Linked DNA regions of Homo sapiens: region 1 is linked to region 2. The links are contacts of gene promoters, found by promoter capture Hi-C in blood cells and fetal thymus (Javierre and others, 2016). All regions are on one chromosome and are shown on one strand. Each heading gives the region's core, a stretch centred on a gene start or on the middle of the fragment in contact. The rest is flanking DNA. Distances are from core to core; before and after follow the strand shown. Region 1 holds the start of MAST4-AS1 (MAST4 antisense RNA 1). Region 2 holds the start of MCCC2 (methylcrotonyl-CoA carboxylase subunit 2).

Region 1 (4,186 bases), core at 711-3,210, 4.6 Mb before region 2:
AGCTACATGATATAGATACAAATAAGTCACTAAGAGAAAGTCTTCAGAATTTACCGTCTTCATGGGATTCTCAAAAATTCAGTATTCTTTGAGAATACAGATCTACTAGTACTAATAGTTTCAGTGCATCTTAAGAGAAATAAGAGATACTTGGGCTTCTGAAGTATCCATTCAAAAAGGATTTACTAATATTAAATGCCTATATAAACTGAGGAGCTGTCAGGTTCTGAAAATATGAAGATCAGTAAAATGTGACTTTAGCCTTGAGGAACTCAGACTAATTGGAAAGACAGCAGTAAACAGTCAATTATACACAGTGTGATCAGCAGCCTGGTTGAAGACTCTAGAGAGTAGAAAGAAGCACATTGTGGGGTGTCCTCTGCTCCAGTCTTATGTCTGTCAGCATAGTATTCTCTTAGCTTCTGTATACTGCCTACATTTATGCGCAGTGTGTGTGTAGACATTGCGTGAAAGGGCTTATGTATGCCATCTCCTCTTCATTTATGTATATCAGCCTCTTACAGGTTGGTCCTATTATGGACCCCATATTGCAGCTGGGGAAAATGAGAAGAGATTTAAGGTCATAGTAAGTGTTGTATCCAGAATTCAGACCCAAAATTTTTGCTCTAAACCAGTGCTCTGTATCACCCCTCTCAGAGAAGCCTTTATCTGGAGCAGTGGTTCCCAACCAGGGGTGATTTTACCTCCCAAGGGACATTTGGCAATGTCCTCAGACATTTTTAATTGTCAGCACTGGCATCTAGTAGGTCGAGGTCAGCAATGTTGCTAAACATCCTCCAATGCTCAAGAAAGCTCCTCAGACAAAGAATTATCCAGCCTATGTCAACAGTGCTGAGGTCTAGAAACTGCTCCGGAGCACAGGGACACTCTTTTGTGTCAGCCTTCAAAACATCTTTTGCAATACTTAGAAACATTTTTTAAAAGAAGAGCATGGGGCAAAAATGCTGGACCAAGCTCATTAATATCTATTGAAGTGTGTTTTGTCATTTAGTGTCCCTGAATGTTTGGGATAAAGTCCCAAATGTAAAATTGAGAAAATAATGCCTTCTTTGTCTACCTCTGTGGGTTGCAAGGATCTGTGGAGGCTCTGTAAGAATGTGAGGAGATAACGCATACGAAAGCCTTGGACATGAAACATCATCCAAAACTCTTGGAGTCCTTGGTGTGAAAATATTAATGTGGGCCACAAGAATTAGATAAAGAAGATCCCACAGCAGGCTTCTTTTTGTTTACCCCGCCTACCTTGTCAGCTTACACCCCCTCTTCCTTCTCTTTATCCTCCCATTTTTGTAAGCGAGTTTGTTCCTGGTATTTACTGCATGGACTAAGCCATTTTTAGATGTATTTTTTGCTGAATATATACTTTTTTGATTTAGTATTTCTTGCCATATTACACCAGACTTAAGGCAGCTAATTTAAATTATATTTTTTCTTTATGTACTTTATACAAACATTCATGGATAGGGGGAGATATTTAAATACCATGCCTTTCTTCAAAATGAATAACAAGAACATTCAGCCCCCTTCATTCTGCCCTTTCAAGGTCTAACGTACTTGAAGGGGCAATACTTGTAGCATTTGCCACATAAATGCCAGGTAGTGTCTTTCCACATCGGGGCTCACCATTACCTAGATCTGTAGTTGCCGGCCATGAAGCCAAACAGGTGTGCACCGTGGTCATTGATGGAACAGATGTAAACTCATAAATTTAGTTTACTGAGGTTTTCGGTGAGTGTGGCTTCCCGTCCGCGTGCTTTTCCTATACAACCAGCGGCGTCCTGGCGGAGGAGTCACTGTGGACTTCCCCGGAGCGTTGTCACTGCCATCCCTCCCGCGGTGAATCACAGGTCGGCCTCAGGTGCGCGCAGCACACACCCGGAGCAGCCGCGGGTTTATTTATTTATTTCCGGGACGGATCCATTCCGGGCTCCGGGGAGGGGGAGCGGCGGCCCAGGCTGCGGGGCTGTCCCGGCACCGGCTGGGGTCGCGCCGCGGCCGCCTGCTCCCTTTCCCGTGAGCCCCCGCTCCTCAGGCGCGGCCGGGGCTGGTGGGGGGTGGGGGATGCAGGAAAGCTGGGGGCGCGGCCACCAAGCTGTCCAGGGACAAGGCCCTGCCGCCTCCTCCCAGCCGGACCCTGGAAGGGTCCACAAAGGTGTCAGGTTCAAGTCCTCCAATAGGCCCATTTTTTAAAAGTGCTTTTAAGTTTCCGCTTTTTTCAGGAGGGGAGGGCAAGAGCAGCTTTTTCTATTCAAATTCTTTTCCTTGTATGTAGATACCAAAAGGAAACTCGGCACTGGGCATGTTCGGATGTGAATGGTTTTGCTGATAAGCAACAGCCTCCGGAACCAAAGCCTCAAAATAGTCGTCTCCCCCGCCCCTCGCAGAAGCGGCGAGTGGTATCTGCCAAACAGATGACAAAGTACCTCCGACTGAATCCCACAGACAGCGCTTTGAGCAGAACGCACGGCTCAACTCATGTAATTACTGTTTATAGCTGGCCGAGCCTGACTAGGAGAGGGCAGACCCGAGAGGAAATCAGTTTCCCGGACCTTTGAGAGGAGGCTGTGTGTTAATTAAAGGCTAGGACGGGACGGGTACTTCTCAGACATGCTCCAAGTTGTTCTTGAGATCACAGTTCCCATCACATTTTCTCTGGAGGGAGTGAGTAGATAATTGGGATTTTTTTTTTATTTTTGGCCTTGTCTTTCTTCCTTTTTTTTACCTCTCCCCATTTTAGTCATATGGCCTTGAACCCACAGTGAATTGAAGAGAGAAAGAAATGGATATGTCTGACCCCAATTTTTGGACTGTGCTCTCAAACTTTACTTTGCCTCATTTGAGGAGTGGGAACAGGCTTCGGCGAACACAAAGGTAAAAACGCGGGGATCTCTGCCTGGAGAGGGAATGCTTTCACTTCCCAGGGGCCCACAGGCGGAGCTGCCTGAGCCCCTCAGGAGCTGGGGTTTTGTGTATTGGGTGACACTTTGAAAAGTTTATGCCCCGCTAGGGGAGGGGGTACTGTTTCAGGTATTTCTTCGTCCTTGTGGTTTCCTGGGTAACCCTGATAAATGTGCTTCTCATAGGTTTTCTCCTTTTGAAATGTGGATAATAAGACATTTCCTTGTGAGAGGTGGGGGAGAAAAAGGGAAAGAGGAGGAGATACTTTGTCTAAGTCTGTCCCTTTGACCTGATCATGTTTATCCATTTCATTCACCCAGTCATTGAGGCTTCTGGTACTTTTCGTTGAGCCCTTCAGATGTTCCTCTCTATTAAATATTTGACCTTTATAAGATGCAGATGTACGATGCAAGGATAGCCCAGGTTAGCTATTTCATACTATCTGTGGAGAGGCAGATCTACATAACTTTGTCATTTTGATTTTTCAATGGTTTGCTGGCATTTATTACTAATACAGGAGTGTCCTTTTCATTTTGTAACGTATATTTGATAGAAAAGATGGGGAAAGAAAAAGAATTTTAATGTCAAGATGAAGCTCATGCCACAAGTGACAGGCAGTTCCAAGAGTTTGCTGACACTTGTGTTGAGAGACTATGACTTTGAAGGAGGCATTTCTCACCACATTTGTGTCCAGCACAGAAAAGTAAGATTGTTGTACTTTTAGAGGGGCACACCTTTTGAGTTGTGTTAATACTGATTCTTTGTTTTCCTTCAAAACTTGCCTTGCATGTACATGTGAACATGCATGAGAGCAACTTTGCAGTCAGATAAACAGGATGCAGGCTCTCAGATTTGGAGCTTCACAATCTCTATGCTTCAGTGTTCAAAGAACCCAAGAAAATGGTTCGTTCTTTTTGGTTATACCTGTAACTTTTTGTAGTATAAATGTGGATATGTGATACTTTAGAAAACTTAGTTTTTCCTTTTGAAGTTTTTCATGGTTTCTTACATTTCAGAAACATCCTGGAATACTCACATACACTGTTTATATACATGGGTGCACACACAAATCACATGTGCACCTGTGTGTATGAGAGAGACATCTGGCAGGTTTCAAAGTCATATTTGCTTTTTGATGCAGTTTGAAGTGTTGATACCACTAAACTATGTTGGATTCTGAAGTTGTACCTTTTAAGTAATGTGACTATGTTTTTCTCGTTCTGCCATATATGGTCAGAGACCCTCTCTTGTAGTATTGCTCATTTTG
Region 2 (4,030 bases), core at 1,219-3,718:
TATGTTCCTTGTAATCTCAATAGTGGGGTAGAGAGACACTGGACACTAACAGATGCTAGGTGACTGCTTTTGGCCTTCTGTGCATTTGCACTTCACCTTTTGCATTTTTCTACTTAGCTGTTCTGGGAACATTATACATTTCCAAAGAGCTTCTTGTAACAAAAGTTACAAGAAATAAGAAACATGTATGACTTTTTTTTTTTTTTTTTTTGAGACAGAGTCTTGCTCTGTCACCCAGGCTGGAGTGCAGTGGTGCCATGTCGGCTCACTGCAGACTCTGCCTCTCGGGTTCCAGCGATTCTCCTGCCTCAGCCTCCCAGGTAGCTGGGATTACAGGCACGTGATACTATGCCTGGCTAATTTTTGTATTCTTAGTAGAGATGAGGTTCCACCATGTTGGCCAGGCTGCTCTCAAACTTCTGACCTCAGATAATCCACCTGCCTTGGCCTTCCAAAGTGCTAGGATGATAGGCATGAGCCACTGCACCCGGCCAAAACAGGTATGACTTTTAAAGAAAGCAAGGAATCATATCCTATTGTGTCTTTTCTGTCTTCGGGTGGTGATTTTAAGTACTTTGCATCATTGAAGAACTATTTAGAGAAAAATAAAGTGTGGCAATTAAAATATCAAACCCTCTCTTCTGATACCCTGATACATATGAAAAGTCAGTTTTTACTGGCCTTTTTTTCTGTTGACCATGGGAGGCAAGCACAGTGTAAATCATACCTTTGCAGTTTAGCTCATGCTCTCCTCCATTTGCACAAAGCCTGGCCATGTTCATTGCTCAGTCCACTCTCAACGCTTCTGCAAGGCTCAGCTGCAACCCTTTCCCAATTGCATTCTGTTCCTTTAATGTCTGTCCTACACAGTTCAGTAAGAAATCATGTGGCCATTTGTATTATTTTCTTATAAGTACCTTGAAGTCTGAACCTAAGTTTACCTCCAGGTGTAGACGCACCCTTTCTCTACCCCATCCTCCCCCTTTACTCTGCCCCACTAAGCAACCAATGGAGTAGAAGTAGTAAGTGCTCAATAAATATGTGAATGAAAAACCTTAAGTTCAAGGCATTTTGTATAGAATGTTTTAATTTTTATGGGTATATTTGGAGTCCTTTATTTAAGACCACAGTGCTGATGTCCACAATCTGTCACTACATAGTGCCTGGTGTGGTGGCTCATGTCTGTAATCCCAGCACTTTGGGAGGCTGTGGCGGGCAGATCGCTTGAGTCCAGGAGTTCAAGACCAGCATAGCCAACATGGTGAAACCCCTACAAAAATAAAAAATTAGCCGGGCTTGGTGGCACAAACCTGTAGTCTCAGCTACTGGAAAGGCTGAGGTGGGAGGTCAAGGATTCAGCGAGCTGTGATCGTGCCACTGCATTGCAGCCTGGGCGACAGAGTGAGGCCCTGTCTCAAAAAATGAAATAAAGTAAAAAATAAAAATAACTACATAGCGAAAATAATCAGAAGAATGTTTAAGGTCTCCAGTGAAAGGACAACAGGCTTGTTGTGCTGTTCGCAAGCACGTGTTAGATGCGATTCACTCATGTTGTTGGTGTGTCACTGGGGGTTGTGACTGCAAGTTGTCCAGGTTCTTGGCATTGTGAACAAAGAATTGGACAAAACGCCCAGCAAAGCAAAGAAAGAACAAGGCAACGAAAGAACGAAAGCAGGGATTTACCGAAAACGAAAGTGCACTCCACAATGTGGGAGCGGACCGAGCAGAGCTCAAGGGCCCGGATATAGAATCTTCTTGGGTCCAAATACCCACTAGAAGTTTCCTATTGGCCATTTTATGCTCACCTCAAACCCGATTGGTTGCAAGAAGCAAGCAGTCAGAGGCTAGGGTGAAATTACAAAGTTATACTTCTATGCAAACGAAGACTGGACCCCCAATCAGTCTGATTGGTTGTGGACAGCAACCATTCAGAGGCTGGAGTTAAGGTTCAAACTTGGCAAAGCAAGCCTCCACCAGCAGTAAGTCTGATTTGTCGGGGACAGCCAATTTCCTATCTGCCCTGCGGAAAAGGTGGGGGGGTTTGCAAAGGGAGTAGCCTTTGGTCCTTTTGTTACTTAGGCATGGAAAGTTAGGGTTTTCCTTTCAGTTTAGCTCTAGGAAGTCAGCGTGAGACAGCCTTAGGTTCCCTGCTTCCAGACTTATTCTCCTGCCTTAGGTACAGTCACTATCGTGATATTATCTATCGCTGTGTCAACACAACACCAATCCAAGCCCAACCGCAGCTCTCTCACTGCCGCACCGCTTCGTGAGGGTCGATCCGCCGGGGAGACCTGCTCTCCTGCGCTCGGGACTAGACGCGACCTCGCGGGGCTGAGGCTCTGTCCCTTATTGGCTGGGTCAGGGGGCGTGGCGCGGCTTGACCAATCGCGGGCGGCGCGCTTAGGCACGTGTGTGGACAGGCCTGAGAATCAGAGAAACCTTCTCTGGGGCTGCAAGGACCTGAGCTCAGCTTCCGCCCCAGCCAGGGAAGCGGCAGGGGAAAGCACCGGCTCCAGGCCAGCGTGGGCCGCTCTCTCGCTCGGTGCCCGCCGCCATGTGGGCCGTCCTGAGGTTAGCCCTGCGGCCGTGTGCCCGCGCCTCTCCCGCCGGGCCGCGCGCCTATCACGGGGACTCGGTGGCCTCGCTGGGCACCCAGCCGGACTTGGGCTCTGCCCTCTACCAGGTAGGCTGAGCGCCCCGGTGGCCTGGCCGCCGGTGCCAGGCTAGGAAGCAAGTGGAGGAGGGGCACGCTTCAACAACTGCTGCTCTCTTGTCCGGAGCCCCAGTTGATTCTGTGACGCACGTGAAGTTTGAAGAAGAAAAGCCTAACAGATACAAGAAAGTTTAGTTCACTTTTAGAGCTGGCACTGTACTTTGTGTCTTTGAAATCAGTGGTTCTTAAAGCCTGGTTTAGAATTGCCACCTGGGGAGCTAGCTGAATAGCTGCCTGAGCCCTACTCTGGACCTTGTGGGTCTCAGGTGGAGTCGCTGTGTTTATATTGTTAGTGAACTCATTAGGGGACTTTTGGCAGCCAGCTTTGGGAACCACTGGCCTAGAGCAGCCCAACGAGGGGCGCTGTGCTTAGGAAATTTGAGTTTAAAAGTTGATTATGATGGCCGAGCCCAGTGGCTCACGCCTGTAATCCCAGCGCTTTGGGAGGCCCTGGCGGGTGGATTACCTGAGATCAGGAGTTCGAGAACAGCCTGGCCAACGTGGTGAAACCCCATCTCTACTAAGAATACAAAAATTAGCCGGGCATGGTGGCGCGCGCCTGTAATCCCAGCTACCTGGGAGGCTGAGGCAGGGGAATCGCTTGAACTTGGGAGGCGGAGGTTGCAGTGAGCTGAGATCGTGCCATTGCACTCCAGCCTTGGCAACAAGAGCGAACTCTGTCTCAAAAAAAAAAAAAAAAAAAAGTTGGTTATGTTAATAGAAAATATCCCACAGTATCTTTGAGTGGCTTTTCTTGGAATTAGGAGGCATCATAAGGCCAAAAAACTCAAAACTTGCGAAATATCAGAGCTGGAAAATTTCACTGTGTTCCCACGATTTCTAAGCCTATACAGATAACATCTAAATAGTGCAAACAACACACAATTGTTTGTCAGTCCAGAATGTTTAATTCAGAATTATTAAGTGGTTATTGTGGTCTAGGCACTATTTTAGATATTTGGCATGGATGCGTAGGAATGGAACTAATAATTTTGTAGGGAAGATGGACAAGAAAGCAGGTAACTGTGGTACAGTGTAAGAAGGGTTGTCTAAAGCTTGAGAAGGTGGTTACAGAAAGCTACCGATAGGAAGTAATGGGTGAGATGAATCTTGGGTAAGAGCTGGCCAAGTTCAGGGTGCAGGATGGAAGGTAAGACTGTATAAACCAAGAGAGTTACAAGAACATAGGTACTGAGTTATGAAAGTGTATATCTGGTGTGAGGACTTGAATTCCATGTCTAGGACATGGAATTCATTGAATAGTGTCTGGTGATGGGATTGATTGATTATGGGGCCAGATAGAGGAGGATCTTCCAT

The links. Contacts are between HindIII fragments. The CHiCAGO score rates a contact against its expected background, and 5 or more counts as called.
Region 1: a contact is called between the fragment with the promoter of MAST4-AS1 here and the fragment with the promoter of MCCC2 in region 2, in 3 of 17 cell types (naive CD4 T cells, non-activated CD4 T cells and total CD4 T cells). The highest score is 7.6, in naive CD4 T cells.

Annotation. Positions count from the first base shown.
Region 1 is chr5:67,002,194-67,006,379 of GRCh38, forward strand. MAST4-AS1 (MAST4 antisense RNA 1) reads right to left here and starts at 1,961. Exons shown (of 2, transcript NR_111908.1): 1 at 1,651-1,961. The region is part of intron 4 of MAST4 (microtubule associated serine/threonine kinase family member 4); the gene reads left to right. RefSeq lists a silencer at 1,839-2,178. The HindIII fragment of the contact is 7,419 bases long and covers 1-4,186 here.
Region 2 is chr5:71,584,872-71,588,901 of GRCh38, forward strand. It overlaps MCCC2 (methylcrotonyl-CoA carboxylase subunit 2), which reads left to right and starts at 2,469. Exons shown (of 17, transcript NM_022132.5): 1 at 2,469-2,683. The coding sequence starts at 2,555. RefSeq lists an enhancer at 2,128-2,914. The HindIII fragment of the contact is 6,273 bases long and covers 1-3,766 here.